2 separate regions of the Homo sapiens genome follow, and region 2 is linked to region 1. The links are contacts of gene promoters, found by promoter capture Hi-C in blood cells and fetal thymus (Javierre and others, 2016). All regions are on one chromosome and are shown on one strand. Each heading gives the region's core, a stretch centred on a gene start or on the middle of the fragment in contact. The rest is flanking DNA. Distances are from core to core; before and after follow the strand shown. Region 1 holds the start of NXNL1 (nucleoredoxin like 1). Region 2 has its middle 7.7 kb from the start of MVB12A.

What was found. Contacts are between HindIII fragments. The CHiCAGO score rates a contact against its expected background, and 5 or more counts as called.
Region 2: a contact is called between a fragment that was not itself captured here and the fragment with the promoter of NXNL1 in region 1, in 1 of 17 cell types (endothelial precursors). The highest score is 5.4, in endothelial precursors.

What each region holds. Positions count from the first base shown.
Region 1 is chr19:17,459,664-17,462,203 of GRCh38, forward strand. It overlaps NXNL1 (nucleoredoxin like 1), which reads right to left and starts at 1,263. Exons shown (of 2, transcript NM_138454.2): 1 at 881-1,263. The coding sequence starts at 1,206. RefSeq lists an enhancer at 1,169-1,669. The HindIII fragment of the contact is 2,658 bases long and covers 1-2,071 here.
Region 2 is chr19:17,426,475-17,429,014 of GRCh38, forward strand. No RefSeq gene overlaps it. Among named protein-coding and RNA genes, the nearest start is that of MVB12A, 7.7 kb to the left of the region's middle. The HindIII fragment of the contact is 1,825 bases long and covers 354-2,178 here.

The sequences.
Region 1 (2,540 bases), core at 13-2,512:
CACCTTGGCCTCCCAAAGTGCTAGATTTACAGGTGTGAGCCACCGTACCTGGCCTTACTTTTTTAAGAGACAGGGTCTACCTGTATTGCCCTGGCTGGAGTGCAGTGGTGCGATCATAGCTCACTGCAGCCTCAAACTCTAGGCTCCAGTTATCCTCTTACCATAGCCTCCCAGGTGGCTAGGACTACAGGCATGAGCCACCGTGCCCAGCTAGGGGTCTCTCTTTAAAGCCACTTTTTCGGGGAAGCATCCTCTGACCCCGGAACCTCACCAAGGTTTCCCTCATTGTATTTCCACTTTGTGGCCTAGCTTTGTCCTCTGAGCACTACTGCAATTCGCTATTATATATTTGTTTTTTGATTTTTTAGACAGAGTCTCCCTCTGTCACCCAGGCTGGAGGGCAGTGGCACGATCTTACCTCACTGCAGCATCTGCCTCCCAGTTTCAAACGATTCTCCTGCCTCAGCCTCCCAAGCAGCTGGGATTACAGGCGCCCACCACCACGCCTGGATAATTTTTGTATTTTTAGTAGAGACAGGGTTTCACTATGTTGACCAGGCTTGTCTCAAACTCCCGACCTCAGGTGATCTGCCCACCTCGGCCTGCCAAAGTCCTGGGATTACAGGGTTAAGCCACCATGCCCGGCCTTGCTATTACATAGTTGATTCTGTCTTTTGCATCTGTTCCTCTCACTCGGCTCTAAGCTCCCTGGGGTGGCATGGAAGCCAGCATGTGGAAGTGGGCACCCCTGTCTGTACCCCCTAGTTCCCAGTATATGGACTGGCACACAGGGGCTGCTCATTCACTCTAGTTAGAATGGATGCTTCACTTTCAGCGAACATGCCCCCTCCTCCAGGAAGCCCTCCCTGCCCCTCCTCACCTCCTCAGATCATCCTCAAAGGGCAGGAAAAGCCATTTCTTTGGCATGTCCTTGAGGAACAGGTCCTGCTGCTCCTCCGTGGAGTCCTGGGACACGTACACCAGGGCCAGCTGAGCCGCCCGCAGTACATAGAACTCATCTGTGAGCCGCACGAAGAAGTCCTTGAGGATGGGCACGAAGGCCTGGCACTGTGGACAAGCCCCAGCACCAAAGAACAGCAGCACCAGCCGGTTCTCCAGCCTGCGACTGACCTCAGCCTCCGTATCCAGCTCGTCCTGGTCGCTATTGTTGCGGATCAGGATGCGGCCAGAGAACAGGGAGGCCATGGTAACCTGGGTTGGGTGCTGGGGACAGCGCGGCGTGTGGTCCCCGGTCTGCTGACTGGCTCCTCTCCCAGAAATAGAAATCTTTAGAAAACCAGCTTAGGACTTCACTAATCTGCCTAAACCTTGACCTGAGGGGCCTCTAAGGGCGGGGGGCAGGGCTCTCTGTGTGGCCCTTCTCAGGAGAGAGCCGCAAACGCATTAAGAAAACACGTAACAGATGGGCACGGTGGCTCACGCCTGTGATCCCAGCACTTTGAGAGGCAGAGGTGGGAGGATCATCTGAGGTCAGGAGTTTGAGACCAGCCTGGCCAACATGGTGAAACCCTGTCTGTACTAAAAAATAAAAAAATTAGCCAGGCGTGGTGGTGGGCACCTGTAATCCCAGCTACTTGGGCAGCCGAGGCAGGAGAATCGCTTGAAGCCAGGAGGCGGAGGTTGCAGTGAGCTGAGATTGTGCCACTGCACTCCAGCCTGGGCGACAGAGCGAGACTCCATCTCAGAAAAAAAAAGAAAGAAAGAAAGAAAAAAAACCAAAAAACCATGTAGCAGACAGTGACTCACGCCTGTAATCTCAGCACTTTGGGAGGCTGAGGCAGGAGGATCACCTGAGACCAGGAGTTTGAGAGCAGCTTGGGCAACAGTGTGAGACCCCATCTCTATGAAAAAATTAAAAACTTAGCTGGGCATGGTGTTGTCATGAGCCTGTAGTCCCAGCTACTCAGCTGAGATGGAAGGATCACTTGAGCCTGGGAGGTTGAGGCTACAATGACTGCACTACTGCACTCCATCCTGGGTGACAGAGCAAGACCTAGTGTCTAAAAATAAAAAATAGGCTGGGCACGGTGGCTCACGCCTGTAATCCCAAAGCTTTGGGAGGTCAAGGTGGGTGGATCACCTGAAGTCAGGAGTTCGAGACCAGTCTGGCCAACATGGAGAAACCCCATCTCTACTAAAAATGCAAAAATTGGCCAGGTGTGGTGGCTCACGCCTGTAATCCCAGCACTTTGGGAGGCTGAGGCAGGTGGATCACAAGGTCAGGAGATCGAGACCATCCTGACTAACACAGTGAAACCCCGTCTCTACTAAAAGTACAAAAAAAATTAGCCGGGTGTGGTGGCGGGCACCTGTAGTCCCAGCTACTCGGGAGGCTGAGGCAGGAGAATGGCGTGAACCCGGGAGGTGGAGCTTGCAGTGAGCCGAGACCGCGCCACTGCACTCCAGCCTGGGTGACAGAGTGAGATTCCGTCTCAAAAAAAAAAAAAAAGCAAAAATTAGACCGGGTGTGGTGGCTCATGCCTGTAATCCCAGCGCTTTGGGAGGCTGAGGCAGGCGGA
Region 2 (2,540 bases), core at 16-2,515, 33 kb before region 1:
GATTCTCCTGCCTCAGCCGGCACCCCTTGCTGCTGAGTAGCTGGGACTACAGGCTTGGGCCACCATAACCAGCTAATTTGTATTTTGTATTTTTAGTAGAGACAGCGTTTCACCTTGTTGGCCAGGCTGGTCTCAAAGTCCTGACCTCAAGTGATCCCCCGCCTTGGCCTCCCAAAGTGCTAGGATTACAGGTGTGAGCCACTGCGCCCGGCCCAGGCCACACCATTTTCATCCACCAATTCATACAACCTTGTTTTATGTACATTTGTTTAAAAACACCTTATTTAATATCTATGGTGGATTCATTTACATTGAACTCACAGCCAACAGCACCGAAACTCACGTCTGCATAAAGCTTCTCTATAATGGATTTTCTCCATGAGGTGCATCACAGACTTTTTTTTTTTTAAGTATTTTATTTTTGGCATGATCATAGCTCACTGCAGCCTTGACCTCCCGGGCTCAGGTGATCCTCCAATCTCAGCCTCCTGAGTAGCTGGGACTACAGGCTACACTGGGCTAATTTAAAATTTTTTTTGTACTGATGGGGGTCTCACTATATTGCCCAGGCTGGTCTTGAACTCCTGGCCTTGGGCAGTCCTCCTGCCTCGGCTCCCAATGTGCTGGGATTACAGGCATGAGCCGCCGAGCCCAGCCATTGCAGCCTTTTGGTACTTAGGAAGCCTGGACAGCATTTCGGTGTCTGGGGGAATTTCAATGGCAAAATCACCAACAAAAACCACAAGAACATGGCCAGGCACAGTGGCTCATGCTTGTAATCCCAGCACTTTGGGAGGCCGAGGTGGGTGGATCACCTGAGGTCAGGAGTTCGAGACCAGCCTGGCCAACATAGTGAAACCCCATCTCTACCAAAAATACAGAATTAGCCAGGCTTGGTGGCAGGTGCCTGTTATCCCAGCTACTTGGGACACTGAGGCAGCAGAATCGCTTGAACCCTGGTGGGTGGAGGTTGCAGTGAGCTGAGATTGTGCCACTGCACTCCAGGCTGTGCAACAAGAGTGAAACTCCATTTCAAAAAAAAAAAAAAAAAAAAGAGAAGAAATTCACCACCCTAAACTCACACCTTCCTTCTCCCATAAGTGCATGCCCATGGACGTGTACGATGGCTGCTATGCTGCTGTTTCTCCTCTGGGCTGTTGTAGTCTTGTGGTGGCCCACATTCTGCTGCAGTTGGAAACATCCCCAGATCTCTGTGGTTTAGAAAAGCTGGCCAGGCATGATGGCTGATACCTGTAATCCCAGCACTTTGGGAGGCCGAGGCAGGCAGATCACCTGAGGTCAGGAGTTCGAGACCAGCCTGGCCAACGTAGTGAAACCCTGTTTCTACTAAAAATATAAAAATTAGCTGCGTGTGGTGGCACACGCCTGTAATCCTAGCTGCTTGGGAGGCTGAGGCAGGAGAATCGCTTGAACCCGGGAGGTCAAGGTTGCAGTGAGCCAAGATTGCACCATTGCACTCCAGCTTTGGCAACAAGAGTGAAACTCCATCTCAAAAAGAAAAAGAAGAACTAAGGCTGTCATACTTGGAGTCTCACATCTGTAATCCCAGCACTTTTGGGGGCTGAGGCACGAGGATCGCTTGAGGCCAGGAGGTCGAGGCTGCAGTTTGCTATGATTGCGCCACTGCACTCCAGCCTGTGTGACAGAGTGAGACCCTGTCTCTAAATAAATAAATAAGTAAGGCAGGGCACGGTGTCTCACGCCTGTAATCCCAGCACTTTGGGAGGCCGAGGCGGACGGATCACCTGAGGTCGGGAGTTCAAGACCAGCCTGACCAACATGGAGAAACCCCCGTCTCTACTAAAAATGCAAAATTAGCGGGGCGTGGTGGCGCATGCCTGTAATCCCAGCTATTCAGGAGGCTGAGGCAGGAGAATCGCTTGAACCCAGGAGGCAGAGGTTGTGGTGAGCCAAGATCGCACCATTGCACTCCAGCCTTGGCAACAAGAGCGAAACTCTGTCTGCAAAAAAAAAAAAAAAAAAACAGCCTGGGTGCAGAGCAAAACCCTATCTCTAAGTAAATGAATAAATAAATAGCAAAGCTAAGGCTTATTTCTTAGCGGCAATAGACTTTGTTAGTTGTAGTGGTACAGAAACTGGCCTAATGGGAGGGTCATTTTCTCACAGTGAGGACGGTGTTGTCTAAAGAAACATCCAAGCTTTTAAATAATTAAAGTTGGCCAGCCATGGTGGCTCACGCCTGTAATGCCAGCACTATCGGAGGCTGAGGCGAGAGGATCACTTGAGCCCCCGGGAGTTTGAGACCAGCCTGGGCAACACAGCAAGGCCCTGTCTGTACAAATTAAAAATTAGCCGGGCATAGTGATACCTGCCTGTGTAGTCCCTGCTACTCGAGAGGCTGAGGTGGGAGGATCGCCTGAGTCTGGGAGGTGAAGGCTGCAGTGAGCTATGATTGCATAACTGCACTCCTGGCTGGGTGACAGAGCAAGACCCTGTCTCAAAAAAAAAGAAAAAAAAAATTTGGGACTGGGTGCAGCGGTGGCTCACACCTGTAATCC